7 separate regions of the Homo sapiens genome follow, and regions 2, 3, 4, 5, 6 and 7 are each linked to region 1. The links are contacts of gene promoters, found by promoter capture Hi-C in blood cells and fetal thymus (Javierre and others, 2016). All regions are on one chromosome and are shown on one strand. The core of a region is centred on a gene start or on the middle of the fragment in contact, and the rest is flanking DNA. Distances in the headings are between cores, read along the strand shown. Region 1 holds the start of TMED10 (transmembrane p24 trafficking protein 10). Region 2 overlaps TTLL5 (tubulin tyrosine ligase like 5). Region 3 overlaps AREL1 (apoptosis resistant E3 ubiquitin protein ligase 1). Region 4 overlaps FLVCR2 (FLVCR choline and putative heme transporter 2). Region 5 has its middle 8.7 kb from the start of FLVCR2. Region 6 has its middle 26 kb from the start of BATF. Region 7 overlaps BATF (basic leucine zipper ATF-like transcription factor).

Region 1 (2,875 bases), core at 125-2,624:
AGAATCAAACTGGTATTATGGCAGTAGTTGTCACCATCCAAGAGCATAGTTGGTATTTACATAAAAGAGCCAAGTCCAGATTCTGGCATACCAAAGAAAAAGGACTAGAGACTGAGACCATTTTGTAACCAATAATCGACTTTAATCAACTACAGAAATTACAAATTTAAAACAAGGAAGGAATAAGGTTGCAGCGCTTTTCCCTCAACATACTTAACTACCAAACTAAGTAAGAATCTATTCCATCGCAAGGACAGAAAACCAAACACCGCATGTTCTCACTCATAGGTGGGAATTGAACAATGAGAACACTTGGACACAGGGTGGGGAACATCACACACCGGGGCCTGTCGTGGGGTGGGGGGAGGTGGGAGGGATAGCATTAGGAGACATACCTAATGTAAATGACGAGTTAATGGGTGCAGCACACCAACACGGCACATGTATACATATGTAACAAACCTGAAAGTTGTGCGCATGTACCCTAGAACTTAAAGTATAATAATAATTTTGAAAAAAAAAAAAGAATCTATTCCATCTGTGACACTTACTAGTTTATCCTACCTCTGAGTCTCAGTTTCCTCATTTGTAAAATGGGGCTAACAGTACCTACCTACTTCATAGGGTAGTGCATGAACCAAATGGTAATATATGCAAAGTAGCACAGTAACTGACACAGCAGATGCTCAATAAATAACATTTTATTAATCACGGTTAGCTCTGTCTCCTTTACTTTCCTGCAGGTATCGCGGTATCTTATGATGCCAATCCGTATAAATATTCAACACCCCAACATTTATTTGGAGAACCAAATTACGGTTCAATGTATCTGAGACCAAAACTGGTATAGGACGTTGACAACCGCCCCAGCTCAGGTGTCACCACATCCGCCAAAGCCTCGCAGCCCTTCTTGGGGTTCCCAGGCGTTGGTGACCCGCCCCGCCCCGCGACAGGCAACCAGCGGGGTGAGGGGGCGGGCTCCACCGCACGTCCTTTGCGCTCCCGGGAGGCCAGAACAACTCCCAGGCCTCCGCCGGCCCGACTCCCCCGAACCCGAGCCTCCCCTCGCCTAAGCCTGCCGTCTTCCCTCCCGGCCCCACGTCGCCCAATGCCGCACCTTGAGGTGGCTGCGCAGGCCGCCAGCGCCCCCAGACTGGTCGGAGATCTCGTACGCGCCAGTCACTAGCAGGTCCTTGTGAATCTCCTCACGGAGGCACTTGCGAGAGTTAATGGGCAGATGGAAGGAGATGGCAAGGACCAATCTGGGGCCGAGCAGGAACAAAAGCAGCAACGCTAACGGAAAAGGGCCGCGCCGGGCTGGTGGGCCAGACAAACCAGACATGGTGCTGGAGACTCGTTCACCACCGAAGGCCTCAACCGCGCCGGAACCGGGGGGACCCACGTGACTCACCTCTGACCTTCTGATGCCGTCCGCGCCATTTTGGAGACTGGCATGTAGAGAAAGACTCTATAGCGAATCTTTTGAAAAGGGAAGAAAGGATAGGTACCATGTCAAAACCGCAAGTTTAAGCAGTTAAAGAAGCTTTAATAGAATACTATTGCAACAGTTTTATTTTTGTTGAAGTTAGTGACTACTGAGTCGGCCATGGCAAGTATGGGCAGCCCTGGAAGTAATTCTCCTTTAATTTCCGAAAGATGTACCCACGAGTTTAAAGGCGAGTGACACCATAGCAACCAAGCCCCAATAGGAAACAGCCACAAGGCCCTTCGCTGGGCCCGCCCACCGGCCGCCTAGGCGCGAGGGCGGGGAATGAGGCTGTGTCTCCGGGGATGGGGCGGTTTGCAGGCACTCCCAAGCGCCTTTGACACCTTGATGACACCTGGGGCACTGAGACACTAGAGAGGAAAATTTCGAGGAAAGATTTCAACTTGGCTATTAGACAGTGTGGACCTTAGAGAAGAAGTTTTAGGGGTCACCTGATGAATGTGTGCCGGGCAGACATCCGGTTCATGTCCCATAGCAGGGTATTTGGGCTGGAGTAATTGTCTGGCTAACTGAATGTACATGGTATTATTATTATTATTATTATTATTATTATTATTATTATTTTAGCAAACATTGAATGTGTTCTAAGCTATATTCAAAATAAATTTGAATTTGGTATTTAAATTGAATAAAACAACATGTTTTGGTCCAGTCTCAGATGAACATAATTAAGGGGTTAGCAGATAAGCGTTGTCAGGGAAAGTGCGTATGTGTGTGTTTTAAGTTCACAAACACTTTAGGGATCAAATTAACTATTAACATTTGCAAATAGACAAGCAAATTGACACGGTAATAATTCATGCATTCATTCAATGGAGTACCTACTGTGTGCCAGACATTATGCTATGCATGTATGTCAACACGTTTATTGATTTAACAAACTATTACTGGGATACTAGCAAATATTCAGAGCTGAAGAATATATTAAAATAAACGGCCAGGCGCGGTGGCTCACACCTGTAATCCCAGCACTTTGGGAGGCTGAGGCGGGTGGATCACGAGGTCAGGAGTTCAAGACCAGCCTGGCCAAGATGGTGAAACCCCGTCTCTACTAAAAATACAAAAAAATTAGCTGGGCTTGGTGGCGGGCGCCTGTAATCCCAGCCACTCAGGAGGCTGAGGCAGAGAATTGCTTGAACCCGGGAGATGGAGGTTGCAGTGAGCTGAGATGGCGCCACTGCACTCCAGCCTGGGCGACGGAGTGAGACTTGTCTCAGAAAAGAAAGAAGGAAAGAAAGAAAATGGAATTGCTCCTTGGCCTTTTGGCTAACATCAAGTGTAGAAAATAAACGTGGAAGACACAATAGCCCATGTTGGGAATCATTACCTACTTTGATTAACGTTTATTGAGCATCTTCAGAAATATCC
Region 2 (2,875 bases), core at 156-2,655, 490 kb after region 1:
CTGTTGCCAGGCTGGAGTGTAGTGGCACGATCTTGGTTCACTGCAACCTCCGCCTCCCAGGTTCAACTGATTCTTCTGCCTCAGCCTCCCGAGTAGCTGGGACTACAGGTGCGGGCCACCACACCCAGCTAATTTTTGTATTTTTAGTAGAGACGGGGTTTCACCATGTTGGCCAGGATGGTCTCGATCTCTTGACCTCGTGATCTGTCTGCCTCGGCCTCCCAAAGTGCTGGGATTACAGGCGTGAGCCACCGTGTCCGGCCCGAGTGTGGATCTTTTTAAAGTTGGATTGGGAGGGGCTGACTTGGCCCTGAGATTTGTGGTATGACCTTTGTTAAGGGATGTGGTTATGTGAGTTTTTAAGAGTCGAGTGAATCTTGGCCAAGTGGATTGTATTGCATTTAAGGAATTATCAGTTTAAGTTCCCAAATAATTGAATTCAAGGTATCCAATATATACAACTTTGCTGAAATGCGATTAGGGAGGCAAACAGTAGAAAGAATACAGATGTTAGGTTCAAATACCTCATCCCTTACTTAACCAGCTATATGACCTTAGGCAGGTTACTTAACCTTTCTGAGACAGTTTTCCTGCAGTTCATAGTATGGGCAGGGGGATTAAGTGAGATATGAGAGCTCTTAGTTTAAATCCTGGCACATAGTAGGGACTCAGTTCATTTAATTTTATTTCTCTTCCTACCTCCCTGCCCTAATGAGGGTGAAGGTTTTTCTGATCTGTGAGTAAATATTCATCAGCCTAAAATTAAGCTGAGATTTCCTGAGGATAGGGAAAGAGAATAAAGTCAGAGGTCTTTTTCTCCCCTGTGGTTTTATACTGGAGGAAAATATATATTGTTCCATTTAGCATGGGCTTCCTTTAAAATATGTGATTTTAATTGGGATACTTGTATTAATTTAGAGTTCCTAGTTCAGAGTCTTAGGATGCATCATCAAATTGGCTTGAAAATGGACTATAGCGTGTAAAAGGAGTATGTAAATTATTGTGAACTCATCAGTTAGGATTCTTTATGTGTGCAAAGGATTACAACATAATCCAAATGGTCCTAAGTAATAAAGAGAATACTTTCACTCATATTCAGGCATATCTTGATTCTGAAAATCCCACTTTATCTCTTCAGTCAACCTCCTGCTGACTTTCTCCTTCACCAACAGCTACAGGCTCTTCTTTCAAGGTCACAAAATGGTTGTTGCCCTTCCAGACTTCTCATTCTCATCCTATACCATCAAGAGGAAGACAGGCTATCATCTGTAGCCATTATAGAAGAGAAAGAAACCATTGCTTTCTCACAGAGTCCAGAACATGTCTCCTTAAACTTATGGGCTCCAATTGGTTTATGTGCCTATCTCTGAACCACTAATTATACTGGATGATGAAGTATCTTGATTGGCTGAAACCAATCAAGGCCCATCCCTGAACCAGGGATAGAGTTAATTTTAAACACACAGCTAAGAATGGGAGATGTGATTTCCCACAGGATATTTGGGATTTGTATTCCAGAAGGAAGGGGAAACTTGCTAAGCAACAAACCATAGTAATCTGCATCAGCAGTTAGTTCAGGTTTTGAGCTGTAAATTAATGAAGGCTTTTTTGTCGTTATAGGGATCATCCATGCATCATGTGGACTGGAGGCTGCAGGAGAATTCCAGTTTTGGTATTCCATGCCGACGCTATTCTTACAAAGGACAACAATATTAGAGTAATTGGAGGTGCGTATAACCTCTCCCACAGAGGACGGAGCTGGGCATGGCCCAGACGTCCTTGTCTTAAAGAAGTTGATATGACATATATATAGGGAAAGGGCCTTGGCCATGAGAAAAATCAATTGAGTTGTTATACTTCAAACATTATAATTTCTTAAATTGTTTTCTGCTTATGTTTTTCCTCTGATTTTTTTTCAAGAATATTGTGTACATGTGTTTTTTTTTTAATTGTGGTAAAATACACCTAACAAAATTTACCATTTTAACCATTTTAGAGTGTACAAGTCGTTGTTGTTTAGTACATTCACAATGTTGTGCAGCCGTCACCACTGTTTAGTTCCAGAACATTTTCATCATCTCCAAAGTACAGCCAATACCCATTAAGCAGATATCCCCAGCCCCCATACCACCAGTCCCTGGCAACCACTCATCTATTTTCTGTTTTTATAGATTCCCATATTCTGGATGTTTTATATAAATGGAGTCATGTGATATGTGACCTTTTTTGGCAGGCTTCTTTTCACTTAGCATAATGTTTTTGAGGTTCATCCATGTTGGAGTATATATCAGTCCTTTATTCCTTTTTATAGCTGAATAACATTCCATTGTATATGCTAATGAATGCATTCCAATGATACACCACATTTTGTTTATCCAGTCATCAGTTGATGTACATTTTTTTTGTTTCCACCTTTTTTTTTAATTTTGTTTTTAAAATTTATTTATTTTTTAGATACAGGATCTCACTGTGTTGCCTATGTTGGTCTCAAACTCCTGGCCTTAAGCAATCCTGCCTTGGTTACATGCATAATCCACTGTGTCTGGCCTTTTTCCACCTTTTGTCTGTTGTGAATTGTGCTGCTATGAATGTTCACGGAAAAGTCGTTTGGACACTTAATCTTCAGTTCTTTGGGGTATACCTAGGAATGGAATTGCTAGGCCATATGGTAATTCTGTGTTTAACTTATTCCGTGTCAAACTGTTTTCCATAGCAGCTGTACCGTTTTACATTCCCGTCAACAACGTATAGGGGTTCCAGTTTCTCCACATCCTCACTAACATTTGATATTTTCTGTTTCTTAGATCATAGCCATACCAGTGAATGTGATGTGGTATCTGGCTGTGGTTTTGATTTGCATTTCCCTAATGAGTAA
Region 3 (2,875 bases), core at 197-2,696, 470 kb before region 1:
TAAAAATACAAAAATTAGCCAGGCGTGGTGGCAGGCGCCTGTAATCCCAGCTACTCGGGAGGCTGAGGCCGGAGAATAGTTTGAACCCAGGAGGCAGAAGTGGCAGTGAGCCAAAATGGTGCCATTGCACTCCAGCCTGGGTGACAAGAGCGAAACTCCATTTTAAAAAAAAAAGAGGCCGGGCACAGTGGATCACACCGGTAATCCCAGCACTTTGGGAGGCCAAGGTGGGCGGATTACGAGGTCAGGAGATCGAGACCACCCTGGCTAAAATGGTGAAATCCCATCTCTACTAAAAATACAAAAAATGGCCGGGCACAGTGGCTCACACCTGTAATCCCAGCACTTTGGGAGGCCCAGGCAGGTGGGTCACAAGGTCAGGAGATCGAGACCTTCCTGGCTAACATGTGAAACCCCGTCTCTACTAAAAATACAAAAAATTAGCTGGGTGTGGTGGTGGGCGCCTGTAGTCCCAGCTACTTGGGAGGCTGAGGCAGGAGAAAGGTGTGAACCCAGGAGGCGGAGCTTGCAGTGAGCCGAGATCGCGCCACTGCACTCCAGCCTGGGCGACAGAGTGAGATTCGTCTCAAAAAAAAAAAAAAATTAGACGGGTATGGTGGCGGGCGCCTATAGTCCCAGCTACTTGGGAGGCTGAGGCGGGAGAATGGCGTGAACCCGGGAGGCGGAGCTTGCAGTGAGCCGAGATGGCGCCACTGCACTCCAGCCTGGGCGACAGAGTGAGACCTTCGCCTCAGAAAAAAAAAAAAAAAAAGAAATTACACATGATCTAACTGGAATGTGGTATTCTAGATTCAGTTTGGGTATAGAAAAAGGAAATTAGTGGAGAAACTTGTGAAATCCAAATAAAGTCTATAGTTTAGTAATAGTATTGTACCAATGTTAATTTCTTAGATGTGACAGTATGTGCCATGGTTATGTAAGAAGTTAACATTAGGAGACACCGGTGAAAGGTATACAGGAATACTCTGTACTATCTTTGCAACTTTTTTATAAATTTAAAATTATTCCACAATTTAAAACAATTTAATTACAGATGGTGCTCCCCTTTACATTCTCACTCCCCCTTAGAATTCTAATCATGTCTCCCTAATCATTGCCCCAATTCAGGTAATGCCAGCCTAAAACTTTTTAAATATCTTTTTTAACCCCTTTCTATGAACTGTTTGCACAGCCCACCTGGGATTTCTTCTTTACCAAGACATGAAAAACTAGATCACACTTGGGAAGTTTTAACTGTTTTCTGTTCCTAATAGGTTTACCATATATACCGGGGGTACCTTGAATTTGAACTTCCCAAAGCGGACAAGAGAGGGGTTAAAATAACATGCTCTGGGTCTCTGGATAAAAGCAAGGGGACATTACAGAAAATATGTTGTATATTAATAAATTATCTAATCTCTGGCCAAAAAGTACAATATATAGAAAATCAATTAACAGATGTTAACTATTGGCATCTCAACAGTAACAAGCTGCACTGAAATAAATGCCTTCGCTCTGAAAAACATGATGCAAATTGCTCAACTATTCAAGATAACAAAAACTCATAAAATCATATGGAACCGTTCAATTAGACTAAATGACAAAACATGTATCTACCATGACTATTTAGTTTCTAATAGCTAAGTGAATACCCATCTTTCTCTATAAACCCTATCTTGTAGAACAGTCTTCAAAAGAGCCACCAGGAAAACATCACTATGGTGCTGTAACACCATATCAACAGCTCAGGCATGCGTGTGTGTACACACACATACATACACACAAACTGCAATAAGGTTAAACAACCTCAAAAGTTTGAAAACTACTATATGAAAGAACATTAGTGAAGGCTAAGCATTCAGAACCCTTCAAAGAAAAAGAAACCAAAGAAAAATAACTGAAATTTAAACCCAAGTTAGTTAATAGCTAAAGTCATTTAAAAGGTAAAACGGTCAGGCACAGTGGCTCATGCCTCTTCTCCCAGCTACTCAGGAAGCTGAGGTGGGAGGATGGCTTGAGGCCAGGAGTTCAAGATCAGCCTGGGCAACATAGCAAGATCTAATAAATAATAAATAAAAGGTAAAATGATACACTAGAGTCCATTAAGGTCATAAAATCTGATCTATTACATGGTACTAATATGTTGATAGTATTAAATAAATATTACACAACAGTACTCTGACCTGGACCACTTACAGAAAGATGAACAAGAAGAGTAATTCCTCTAAAATATTTCAACTCCCACATCTCTATTCAGCCACCAACCATACTTTACCTATTTACAAGTCTTTCTGTAATACAGGACTGTGGTGAGATTGCCCAGGACAGAATGGGCCCTCAATAAATGCTTTCTGAATGAATGACCAAGCGGCAGTAATCTATCTCTGAGGTATTCTTACAAACCAATTCAATATCAAGACCTCAGAAGCAGAACATGCTGTATGCCATGCTACCACATTTAGGGGCAGGCAAGTTAATTGAAAAATAATTAACAGCGACTAATGTTTGTTGGGAGAAAAAAAGTCCTATCATGTAAGTCAGAAAAATAAATGTAAAAACTATAACTTGAAAATGGACAAAAAAGTGAATCTACTTATAACTTTCTAACATTGAAATACAAGATGTTCTTTAAGGAGTCTTTCATTATCCAGAATAATTTTACAAAGAAATTTGATACCAACTTAAATTAGTAAGTTAGACCAATTAGTGAATGGAATGAAGTCCAAGCCCAATTATGTGTTCAAACTGTGTGTCCAATGCCTTGGGTGATTTTTTCTCTTCAAGACTGCAGAAAAATGCAAAACAACCCTCTTGACTGCTGAGAAGGACTAAAATCATTTCTTTTCCTCACAAGTATGTGCCCAAAAGCAATTAC
Region 4 (2,875 bases), core at 268-2,767, 430 kb after region 1:
CAACTCAGTTATGAAGTAGAGAAGACAGTTTGGCCCTGACAGGTCTCTGCTTCCTCGTCTGGACTTTGGGCATCCTGCTCTTGATCTCACTGGGTGGTTTTGAGGCTCTGGTAATATATCGGATGTGTAGGTGCCTTGAAAATGGTGAAATATTTTGCCAGTGTTGACTTTTAGTGCCCTTTCTTGAACTCAAAAAAAAAGGGGGGCTCGGTGTGGTGGTTCACACCTGTAATCCTAGCACTTAGGGAGGTTGAGGTGGGAGAATCACTTGATGCCAGGAGTTTAAGGCCAGTCTTCGCAACATAGTGAGACTCTATCTCTACAAAAATAGTTAAAAAGTTGGTTGGGTGTGGTGGCACATGCCTGTAGTTCTAGCTACTTGGGAGCTAGAGAGGATCACTTGAGCCCAGGAGTTTGAGGTTACAGTGAGCAGTAATTGCACCACTGCACTCCAGCCTGGGCAACAGTGTGAGTTCTCATCTAAAAAATCAAAAAATACTCTGGACTTGCCCTTTGACAGTAGAATAAAAAGGGCTTCTCTAGACACACATCGTGTCCTGCCTGGATTGGGGGCCATGCCCTCCATGTAGAGGGCTCAGCACTCCTGCCTTTACACCGGCTCATGGTTCAGGATAAGCTCCATCATCCTTACCGTAGGAGACTCTCTCAGAGCTTCTGGGTTTCAAAGCCTTCCTCTCATCGGCAAAGAAAGGAAGCTATACTTGCTGATTTGATCCTCTTGAGCTGAGCTGTTCGGCGGCTCCAGGAATCCTGTGGAGCATTCTGGTTCTTTTTCATTCCAGGAAACTGACCGCTTGCTGCAGAGGGGCCTTTTGCCAGGAGTGGCACGATGCAACGTTTGAGTCTATATGTGCCTAAGATGGTTCCTCTCTTCAGTGTAGGAAAATGGCTGTGGTGGCATAGCACAGAACTGATTCATCCCCACCCTCAGGACATAGGCCTGGGAGGGAGAAGTTTTATCCTGAGGGCATGGTGGTCCTGGCCCTACCAAGTTTTCTCGCAGCCCCTCACAGTTAGCAAGTGGCAATGATCGATGGTAACAAATGGGGATCGGTAGGGCTTGGACAGCCCTTGTGAAGATGTTGGAACCCTTAGGAAGATGTTGCAGTTTCCGTTCGACAAGCTTCTCTCTCCAGAATTCTTATATCTCTCCTTAGGGAGGAAGGTTCCTCATTGTCTTCCCTGGGTATGGCTGCCCCCGTATTCTCATGCTGCCCCACCAAAAGCCATGTCCTTTATTAGTGTGCCCCCATCCTGGGCCAGACCTCTGTCCCTTGCAAATAACCCACACAGTCCCCTGGCTATCACATCTTTGTCTCTGTTCTACAACAAGTTCCTTGAATCCTGCTTGTCCTGAATTGCATCCCCTCCAGCCAGCTTCCCTATGTCTTTCCAGTTGACAGCAGGCAATGAGAGAAATGAAAGCCACTAAAGAAGGCCCTCCTCCCCTTGGCCTGTCATGTGTTTTTTTTTTAGACAATGCACCATAGCCTTTATTTTATTTATTGAACAAATATTATTGAGCATCTACTCTGTGCCAAACAACAAACATTTTCACAGCTGGGGATGCAGCAATGAATGGGAAAGGGAAGGTCCCTGTTGGCAATAGCCCTCTGTTCTTGTAGAGTTCACATTGAAGGGAAGAGAGATTACACTATAAGCCAGTCACACCGGAGCGGCTAATGGTGCAAATGTCAGCCCAAGTAGGAGGGCGGGTGACTTCAAAGCAGGATATTAGGAGATGTTTTTAGCTAAGCAGGTCCCTGAGTAACTCCCTAAATAACAGGGCCAGATCTAATGGTGCTGCAATCTCTCTCTTTCTCTCTCTCAGGGCGTTATAGATGTGAGTGACTAATAGTTTTTTTGGTGTAAGCTTGAGATTTCTTTTTCTTTCCAGCTGTCTGTCTGGGATCCTGAGGCAAGCTTAGTTAACTTATGAAGTTGGCTTCTTAGGAAAAAGCTACATGGGTCCCATCCTATCTATTTCTTGAAGTGCATGCTCCAGAGGAACTGGGTTTTGCCCATGGCAGTCCATGAAGCAGCAACTCTTCCAGGGCCTGCCAGTAAGTAATTGGCAGGGTTTTACCCCTGAAAAAATCAGAATAGGAGGGCTATTACCAGAAAGTCCATCCAGATTTAGAAGGAAACATGGGAGGATTAGAAACATTGGTCGTCACGTGAGCATCCCTTTTAGGAATGCCAGAATGTTGCCTTGCAGACAAAGGAGACAATTATTCTCCTTTGGGCTGTTTTATCTGTCAAAGGTCAGGGAGTGGCACCTTTGAGTTGGGGGGGATAGATGGGGGGTTAGTGTTAAGGGAATGCAGAAGACCGGAGAATCCCTCTGTTGGCTGTTGATTGCTGGTGTCTGGGACAGAATTGGTGGGCAATCAGTGCCAAAGCATTTGAATGGCGCTTTGCACATCGCCTACTTCAAATGTGAAAACTTTGGAGTAAGATTTGCATGATGTGATCTGATGTGATCTCAGCTGGCCGGGTGGTTTGAAAGACACCCACTCATTTTTCCTCCTTCCTAGCCGAGTCATGGGGAAGTTCTGTGACCACTGGCTTTCAGCACAGTCAGCTAGAGGGACATTAATGTATTGAGGTGACAGTGATTTGTTCTCTCACTGAAAGAAAAGGCAGTGGATTCTTCACTTCTGCACCCAAAGTAGACCTAGGCTGGCCCTTTGTGGAGTTCACCATGAGGACAACTTCAAGGGGAACACCAAGTCCTTAAAAGGAGGAGTGTGTGCCAGGAAGCTCCTGAGTTCATGATGACAGAAAGCAAGCATAAATACCGGGCTTAGCTAAAAAAATAAAACACGGCCTTTGTCAGTGTTCCTTTTTTTTT
Region 5 (2,875 bases), core at 161-2,660, 390 kb after region 1:
TTGATTGTTTATCTGCCTGGTTAGTTGCCCCTCTCCTTCTGGGAACTGCCCCTCCTCCACTCCAATACGGATCCCCCTGGGGAGCTGCCCTGTTCTTATGCGGCCTTTGCCACCACGGTCATGGTTGATGAGGCTGGGAATGGGCATCTGGGAGTTTGTATTTAAGACACAAAGGGCAGCTTCTCTCGGGCAGCTGAAGCTGTCATGAGGTGTAATGCCAGGGCTGCTGGCTGCCATGTTTTCTGACAAATGGAGAAACTAGCCTTTAGGAAGAGAGAAAATGCAAGCTGGCCTGCAGGGAACATGGGAGAAGCCGAGCATCCTGAATGTGTTGCAGTCCTTGGTTCTCTCTGCTCTTCTGCTACTTGACCACCAACTCCTCTTGAGGTCTCTGAGAACCTCACCTCCCCCAGCCGCCGATGTTCTTCAGATGTACTATCTCTGAGCTTAGGCTGATGAAAGCTGAGCGTCTGTCATTTGCAATCAACTCAGCAGTGAAAAGAAAAAAAAAACCTGGGGGTACAGTCAGCACTTTCGGTTTTCTCATCTGAGACACTAGAACACACTTTCAGGGACTACTCGGGGCCCAGGGAGGCTGATGGCATCAGGGGGACTTCACACAACTACTGACTTAAGCTTAAAGGGAACCCATAACTATCTGGGTTTTATTTTGGAATTGTTTGTTTATTTCTAATTCTTCTGTTCACAGAATTCAGGGGAACCTGAGCCAAGTGTCCTACCTGTAACCTTGAGGAGGCACCATGCCAAGGAGTGAAAGATGAGGTGAGGAACTCAGGACGCCTTACTTTCCATAGAATTTGATGATTGGATTTTCATGGGAATTCACACTCTGAATTGGAAGTAGGTTCTCTGGCCTCTTGATCTTGTGGTGACAGAGGTCACTGTAGGGAAGGGGTAGAAGGAAGAATAAAGGAATGAGGAGGAAGAGAAGAGCAGGAGGCACGGGTACACAGGCACCTGTCCTTGACAGCCTCGCTTCCCTCTGCGGAAGATCTCAATGTCGAAGCTGGGATTCTCCCTCCAGATGGCAGCTCCATCTGCCCAGCTGGTCACATCTGAAACCCAGGCAGGGCATTCTCCTGACCCCTCCCTCTCCATCCTCCTGCAATTCCAGTCTAGTCCACCCCCATCTACCCCTGCTCACTTCTCTCCATTGTCTTGCCATTGCCCTCATTCAGTTCACAAATTCCATTCTCACCTGAGTGACCATAGCAGCCTCCTAAGAGGGCCATCCCCACCCAAACTGGATTTGCCACAAGCCCAGCTGGAGCAGTCTGTACAGGAGACAAATCTGACAATGTCCTTCATCTGCTTAAAACCTCCCAACGGCTCCCCTTTGCTCCCAGGATAAAGTTAACAAACAAAAACAGAAAAGCCCTCAATAAGGCCCGTGCAATCTGGCTGCTGCCTCTCTCTCCAACCACGTTGGCTTTGCTTCTCACCCTCACTCTGCTCCAGCCTCATTGGCTTTGTGGCTTAAAAGGGCCCTGCTCCCTCCTGGTTCAGGGCCTTGCACATTCTGTTCCCTCTTCCTGGAAAGCCCTTCCCCCCTCTTTCACCAAGTTAAGTCTCACTTTTATTTTATTTTTATTTTTATTTTTTGAGATGGAGTCACTCTGTCACCCAGGCTGGAGTGCAGTGGCATGCTCTTGGCTCACTGCAACCTCTGCCTCCCAGGTTCAAGCGATCCTCCTGCCTCAGCCTCCAAAGTAGCTGGGACTACAGGCACCTGCCACCATGCATGGCTAATTTTTTTTGTATTTTTAGTAGAGACCGAGTTTCACCATGTTGGCCAGGCTGGTCTCGAACTCCTGGCCTCAGGTGATCCAGCCCCCTCAGTCTCCCAAAGTCCTGGGATTACAAGCATGAGCCATAAGTCTAACTTTTTAAAAACGTATTGCTTAAGATCCCACTCATCTGTTCCATCTATATAAATTCTTACAAATAACCCTCATAGCACTTATAATTTTACTTATGTGTGTATGTAAGTGTTTGATTGATGTTTGTCCTCTCAAGGACACTGTAAGCTCCATGAAGGTAGGGAGGGACCACGTTTGTTTTGCTCACTCCTAGGATCTTCAGCACCTGCCACAGGGCCTGGCTAAGTCTCATCTATCCCTCAAGATCCCGACCTAGCATCTCTCTGAGAAGCCCCCCTTGACTCTAAGCTTTGGGAGTCCCATGAACCAGCATGGACCACACATTTATTGTACCACCTGGCAATGATCTGCTCACATAACTGTCTCACCACTACTTTGTGGATTCTTGGAGGGCAAGAGCCTCATCTTTGTTGAATTTGTTTCCTTTACACCCAGCACAGTGCCTGGCCTGCAGGAGATCAATGGTGGGTAAATGAATGACTCTGTTAAGACAGTCCCCTGGGCCCAGGTATTATACCCTGTACATCAAGGGGCTGGCTGAGATGACTTTGTGTGTCCTTTCTCTGTCACTGTGGCTCCAGCATTGCATAACCCTGCCCAGCCAGCACCCCTCTGCTTTGTCATGCCATGTGCCTTTAACTGTTGCCCTGGCAATCAACAAATCTTGCTGCTACCCCCGTTTCTCTATTCCATTATGAAAAGGGAGCCTCACACCTCCGGGCTTTCTATAGATTATGCAAAAAGACAAGCCATTTTAATGTCTCCTTCCTCTTTGACTCATGTTTTTTAGTTAGCTCTTTCTCATATTTATGGGGCAACTTTTTTTTTTGGTTTTCTAATTATTAAGAAGCATTTAAAATATAGAACAGGTATGAAGAATAACACAGTGGCCACCCATGATCACACCCAAGGACATGCAGCTGAGGATACAAAATGTGACCCACGTACAGGGACCTTGTCTTTAGAGGAGGATT
Region 6 (2,875 bases), core at 165-2,664, 370 kb after region 1:
GCACCACTATGCCCAGCTAATTTTTTTATTTTTAGTAGAGACAAGGTTTCACCATGTTGGTCAGGCTGGTCTCGAACTCCTGGCCTGAAGTGATCCACCCGCCTGGGCCTCCAAAGTGCTGGGATTACAGGCATGAGTCACCATGCCCAGCCTAGGTGTCTTCTGGATTGCCCTCCCATGCTCCCCTCACGGTGACCTCCCACCTTCCATTCTTCACTGCTTTCTAGACCATGAGCAGGTTGTCCCCTAGTCCGGGAGAAGGCCCAGTGCAGGATGGCCTCACCTGGTGAGGTGGTAAGTCAGGTTGACCTTCTCGTCTCCCACTCATGACTCCACTCACCCAGCCAACTGGCTCCATCCTGACAGCCAAGTCTCCGGATGCTGCAACCAGGCCCTGTGCCAGGCTGCCCTTCACATGGAAGGCGGTGTCTTCCTAATGCTCTCAAGGGGCAACATGCAGCTTGGGTCCACAGGGACTTCTCTGCCAGTGGTGTACATGTCCTGCTGAAGACTCCACCTCCCTTAGAAGGCGGTGATACAGAGCACAGGACTTGTCCTGTCCCCGCAGGGCTCCGCAGGCTGCCATTTGAGCACTTTGAGGGCTCAGGGAACACAGGGTCATCTTCAGTTTGGCAGAGCCTGAAACCAGCATGCTCCACCCCCCTGCTCTTCAGAGATCCCCAGGCCAAGTGCCTGCTGGCCTGCCTGACACAGCCTTACCCACACCACTGCCCACGAGCAAAGCCTGCAGCAGGGCCTGGCCACACACAACCCCTGCTGAGCCAGCTGGAGACAAAAGCAACGGAGATCATTGTGCCAGGCGCCCACCTGATTGAGCTCCTTCAGTAGCCACCCTCAGTCTCATCCATTTGTCCTTTAGAGGGACAGCCTCTGCCTGCTGCCTCCCCGGTGGCATCCCTCATGGGGTGACAGAAGGGAGGAGAAGTCCTGCTTCCCTGTGTCAGTGCCCCCTGAACCCGCTGGCCAACCACTCTGGCCGGTTTGAGGCCAAGTTTCAACTCTAGACCTCCCCTGTGTGTGTCTCTCCTGCCCCTCTCAGATGATGCCAGTGTTGGGCTATTGTGATTATTAAATGCCATAGAAGTTTGGATGAGCTGCATCCCAGCAGGTGGTGGGGTCACAGCCCCTTGGGAGGAGTCCAACCCAACAGCCTCTGATGGCACATTGCAATCTTTGGGGCTCTCACCAGAGAAGCTGGTGCCCATGGGAGCCTAGGATGTGGACACTGGGCTGAGCCCCGTAATTCAGAGCCTGGGAAGACAGCCCAGAAGACGTTCCCTGAGTGCTGGCATTTCTCCCAGCACAGAATCTTGCATTGTAACCTTTGGTCTCCCAACGAAACGTGGCAAAACAGGCTCCCCTTTCAGTGCAGAGCCTCCATGTGGACTGGGCAGATGTGTCATGAGGAGGAGCTTTCTTAATTTCCTTCAGAACCTGGATTTTGGTAGCTAACGCTCTGTCTAGCTCTTTCCCACCCCTCTGTTAACGAGAAGAGCAAAGAAGCCGATCTTCACTTCAGATGTTGCAGTCATAAAATATAATTCATTTTTCTTTCATAATTATTATTTTTTCTTTTTTTGAGACACGGTCTCACTCTGTCACCCAGGCTGGAGTGCAGTGGTGCAATCATGGCTCACTGCAGCCTTGACTACCCACACTCAAGCGATCCTCCCACCTCAGCTTCCCAAGGTGTTGGGATTACAGGCATGAGCCATTGCACCTGGCCTTCTTTCACGATCTAAAGACGTAGAACTTTGAGTCCAGCTTTCTTTGCTACTATCTCTGCCAGGGCCTGGCCTCTTGTGGGCAGGCTTTCTTTGAATCAGAGATTTTCATCTCCACCCATGCTCTAGCACTGTGATTTTCCCCAGAAACCCCCACAGAAGGCACATGACTTCTGCCGGCATCTTCTGAATGACATTCAGGGCCAGAACTAGAAAAGCAGAGTTCACGTGCACGGTTCCCATCTCTCAGCAAGGACTTCTCTTCCCCTTTCATTCTCTACTTTCTACTGACCCCAGGCAGTTCCACTTCTCCTGTCTAGTCAGCCCGGTAGAGGTAGCAGGTAGCTGAGCCTGGAGCTGGTGCCAAGGCTGACTTCATGTCCATGCAGGCAAATTGGAGAGGCAGCCATGAATAGAAATTTGAACATCCGTAGCTTTAACCTTGGATGTTTCACCAACCAGGTTCTGTCCCAGCCTTCTACCCATGACAGGGATGGCTCCCTCAGTCTGGTGGGCCACTTGACCCACACTCAAACGCCTTCTACCCAGGCAGGCACTGTGAAAGCATGGGACCCACTGGATGTAGGGCAATTGGGAGTGGTGGAGAATGTGGCAAACTAAGGAGAGTGTGCAGCTGTCTGTCGTTCAGTTCTCTCCCATGGTGCCATGTGGGAATTTAGGCCTGGGCTTGCCATGTCTTCCAGTTTGTCAAGAAAAGCCAAAATCAGAATTTCTACATGAAATCTCTCAATTCTTTTTTTCTTCCCTTCCCTTTCTTCCTCCCTCCCTCCCTCCTTCCTTCCCTTCCTCCCTCCCTCCTTCCCTCCCTCCCTTCCTTCTTTCTTTTTTTCTTTCTTTCTTCCTTCCTTCCTTTTTTTCCTTTCTTATTCCTTTCTTCCTTTCTTTCCTCCTTTCTTTTTGCTTTCTTTCTTTCTTTCTTTCTTTCTTTCTTTCTTTCTCTCTTTCTCTCTTCTTTTCTTCTTTTCTTTCTTTCTTTTCTGACAAGGTCTCACTCTGTGGCCCAGGCTGGAGTGCAGAGCTGCTGTCATAGCTCACTGCAGCCTCGACCTCCTGGGCTCAAGCAATCCTTCCACCTCAGCCTCCCAAGTAGCTGGGACTACAGGGGCATG
Region 7 (2,875 bases), core at 211-2,710, 350 kb after region 1:
GCATTTTGGGAGGCCAAGGCGGGTGGGTCACCTGAGGTCAGGAGTTCGAGACCAGCCTGGCCAACATGGTGAAACCTCGTCTCTACTAAAAATACAAAAAATTAGCCAGGCATGGTGGTGCATGCCTGTAGTCCCAGCTACTTGGGAGGCTGAGGCAGGAGAATCACTTGAACAGGCAGAGGTTGCAGTGAGCCGAGATCGCGCCATTGCATTCAAACCTGGGTGATAGGAGTGAAACTTCATCTCAAAAAAAAAAAAAAAAAAATAGAAGGCTCTGTAGCAGGGAATGGGCCAGGAGGCTGAACAGAGAAATGGGCCTTTCTACCCCAGGAGGGCTCAAGGGGTGGGAGAAGGCAGAGCTGTATTGGGAAAGAATTTAGAAGGTATCAAGTGCTTTGGGGACGGCCCATTGTCTCGCAGTGCAAGGACCACACATAGTCGCATCCCTTGGCAGAGACCCAAATGCCCCTGCATTTGACACAAGGAAATTCACAGGGCGCTGTACCAGATTCCTCTTTTCAGAGCATTATTAAAGTCTTATTTTGAAATTTCTGTCTTTAATGGTATCCCAAGGGGTCTATGAAAGATGCAATTTCAAGTGCCCTTATCTGGGATGATCACCATCCTAGTTGAGTTGCCTCTAGTCCCAAATTTTTCTAGAGAAAGCTTTTACCTCTGTCTTGAGTGGTCCAGGGGCCTTGAGCAGTGCTGAACTGCAGTTCCGCCAGTGGCCAAGGCCCTAGATGGTGTTTCTAGGTTCTGGCTGTGCCCCTTATAAAGTACTGCTTCCTCCCCATTGCTCATACCTTACCACCTTACCTCTCTTCACTCTGCCCCCAGTATGGTTCTTGTTCAACCAACTCTTCACTAGTTCCTTTCTCTCCATCCCCTCATCCCCTTCCCTAGCAACTCTACCTTCCTGCCCTTGCTCCAGAAACATTCCCTTACCTCTAATAGCCTAGCAATTCCTTTCCATGGAAAAAGTGCAATTGGCACCAAAAATCAATAAGCTTGTATTTATCTGGAAGATTAGCATGATAATCAGCCAGTTAGAATGGCTGTGTTAACCGTATCAAGAATAAGTAAGTAAGATGTAGTTTTAGGGGAAATAATGCATCTTTCAGCTTTACAAGGAAACAGAGCAGACTGCACCAACAGCTCTGATTGGGTGCTTGGGTTTTATTTGAAATGTATTCAGCTTACACTCCATTGCACACTAACATTAAATTCACAGCTATTTGTTAACTTTTTGGAAAGAATGAATGAACAGAAAGTCTGTACTAACTGTGCTCAACAGTCTGAATGTCAAGTTTTTGGTGGCCCTGCTGCTTGTATGTTCTCCATGATTTCACTGTGTCCCCACATTCTGGTTTACCACCTTAAGCTTGAACATCTATGATCCTTACCTCTTTCTCTATCAGAGTCTGATTCTGATTCACTATTCTTTAGGGCAAGCAAACAGACCAATCAAAATTTAAAAGGATAAAATCTTCCTTGTGTACAAGTAGACAATGTCCTCAGACTGGCAAACTGCTGTAAGCTTTTTAAGTGTGTACCTGTTTTCTTAAGTGGAATGTAAGTATAGTTCGGCAGCTCAGCAGTCAGAACAGGGATTGAATCCCAGCCCTGCTGCCTACTATCTGTGTGACAGAGACGTTCTTGGCCTCCCTTGGGCTTGGTTTCCTTATCTAGAAAATGGAAAATGACAATAACTACCCTATACAGATCGTACATTTAAAGAGCCCAACACAATGCCTGTCATTCATAAATACTCAAAAATTTAAGTATAATAAGAGTAATAATAATTATCATAAGAAGCAAGATAATCACAAATTATACACACATTTTATATATATATGAAAACATATATACATTTTGTGTATATTTAATCACAGAAGCTCAGGGTTGAAAGGTTTCTTAAAGGCTAGAAAGTTTAGACATAAGTTTGATGCTTCAGACTTCTCTGCAACACCTCCAGCCAATGGTCCCATTGTATGCCTGGTCACTTCTAGGGCTGGAGATCTTCCTCTCTCCCAATTTATGAACAGAAGAGTCTTTCCTATGTTAAGCTGCACCCCTGTCTCCCTGTAAATTCAACTCACTGGTCTTCATCCAAACCCTTGGGGAACGTATTAATGAGGGTGACACAGATGTCTCTTTGCTGCGGCAAGGCTTTCAGCACTGAATCAGCTCTCTCCCTCTCCAAGACAAATGTCAGAGCCCAAAGAGTCAGCTCATCTAATTATACAAGTCATGTGACATTAGGGTAATCTCTAGAGCTTGAGGGTCCACAGAGCCCCAAGTCATATAGTCAACATATCCATAGCCACACCCCAGCCTCAGTTTCTAGAATGTTCCAATCTTCCCCACATCTGAACACAGATTCCTCCTCCACTGCTTTCTTTTGAGCACCACAGCATCGTCTTTACCTTTTGCCCAATGAGTAGGTCGCAGCGGAGTTGATGCAGCAAGCCTGCGGACTGCTGCCAATGCAACTTATGTTTCTTGGCTTCAGGTAGAAGCTTTTGGCAGCAACGTGTTCAATCTGCCCTACATCAAATTAGCTGTGGTTTGACATCTTCCTTTCCTCCGAGATGACAATCACCTATCTTCTCCATCCATTATCCTCTTAATTATGTCTGAGATTCAGGTGAAAAGTCTTCTGGTTTACCACCAGTGTCAGGGCTCAGTGTGTGGTTTGCCCTTGACTCCTTTCCATGCTTGGCTCCACATGCTGGGGTTGTTCTCTGGCCCTCAGACATGGCCATAGGCCTCGCCTACCAGTGCTTTACAGATGAGGGTTTGGGAGCTACTGAGAGTACCATATCAAAAAAGGACCACATTCCTATTAGGGTTCTAGCCTCATATATACTGG

The links. The method cuts DNA at HindIII sites, captures the fragments that hold promoters and counts their contacts. A CHiCAGO score of 5 or more calls a contact.
Region 2: a fragment that was not itself captured here is called in contact with the fragment with the promoter of TMED10 in region 1 in 1 of 17 cell types (activated CD4 T cells); the score reaches 5.0 in activated CD4 T cells.
Region 3: a contact is called between a fragment that was not itself captured here and the fragment with the promoter of TMED10 in region 1, in 1 of 17 cell types (fetal thymus). The highest score is 5.4, in fetal thymus.
Region 4: a contact is called between a fragment that was not itself captured here and the fragment with the promoter of TMED10 in region 1, in 2 of 17 cell types (M0 macrophages and monocytes). The highest score is 6.6, in M0 macrophages.
Region 5: a contact is called between a fragment that was not itself captured here and the fragment with the promoter of TMED10 in region 1, in 1 of 17 cell types (activated CD4 T cells). The highest score is 9.6, in activated CD4 T cells.
Region 6: a contact is called between a fragment that was not itself captured here and the fragment with the promoter of TMED10 in region 1, in 5 of 17 cell types (M1 macrophages, activated CD4 T cells, neutrophils and 2 more). The highest score is 7.7, in M1 macrophages.
Region 7: a fragment that was not itself captured here is called in contact with the fragment with the promoter of TMED10 in region 1 in 7 of 17 cell types (activated CD4 T cells, total CD8 T cells, megakaryocytes and 4 more); the score reaches 8.5 in activated CD4 T cells.

Annotation. Positions count from the first base shown.
Region 1 is chr14:75,175,238-75,178,112 of GRCh38, forward strand. It overlaps TMED10 (transmembrane p24 trafficking protein 10), which reads right to left and starts at 1,375. Exons shown (of 5, transcript NM_006827.6): 1 at 1,118-1,375. The coding sequence starts at 1,342. RefSeq lists enhancers at 1,199-1,771, 1,286-1,525. The HindIII fragment of the contact is 2,239 bases long and covers 1-1,541 here.
Region 2 is chr14:75,667,796-75,670,670 of GRCh38, forward strand. TTLL5 (tubulin tyrosine ligase like 5) reads left to right here. Exons shown (of 32, transcript NM_015072.5): 3 at 1,621-1,727. Among named protein-coding and RNA genes, the nearest start is that of TTLL5, 8.0 kb to the left of the region's middle. The HindIII fragment of the contact is 5,520 bases long and covers 1-2,875 here.
Region 3 is chr14:74,707,205-74,710,079 of GRCh38, forward strand. All of the region lies in intron 1 of AREL1 (apoptosis resistant E3 ubiquitin protein ligase 1), which reads right to left. Among named protein-coding and RNA genes, the nearest start is that of AREL1, 4.4 kb to the right of the region's middle. The HindIII fragment of the contact is 3,826 bases long and covers 1-2,875 here.
Region 4 is chr14:75,607,587-75,610,461 of GRCh38, forward strand. All of the region lies in intron 1 of FLVCR2 (FLVCR choline and putative heme transporter 2), which reads left to right. It also overlaps the pseudogene RNA5SP387. Among named protein-coding and RNA genes, the nearest start is that of FLVCR2-AS1, 29 kb to the left of the region's middle. The HindIII fragment of the contact is 750 bases long and covers 1,143-1,892 here.
Region 5 is chr14:75,568,496-75,571,370 of GRCh38, forward strand. No RefSeq gene overlaps it. Among named protein-coding and RNA genes, the nearest start is that of FLVCR2, 8.7 kb to the right of the region's middle. The HindIII fragment of the contact is 1,553 bases long and covers 635-2,187 here.
Region 6 is chr14:75,547,404-75,550,278 of GRCh38, forward strand. No RefSeq gene overlaps it. Among named protein-coding and RNA genes, the nearest start is that of BATF, 26 kb to the left of the region's middle. RefSeq lists an enhancer at 1,755-2,004. The HindIII fragment of the contact is 3,328 bases long and covers 1-2,875 here.
Region 7 is chr14:75,525,414-75,528,288 of GRCh38, forward strand. All of the region lies in intron 2 of BATF (basic leucine zipper ATF-like transcription factor), which reads left to right. Among named protein-coding and RNA genes, the nearest start is that of BATF, 4.4 kb to the left of the region's middle. The HindIII fragment of the contact is 156 bases long and covers 1,383-1,538 here.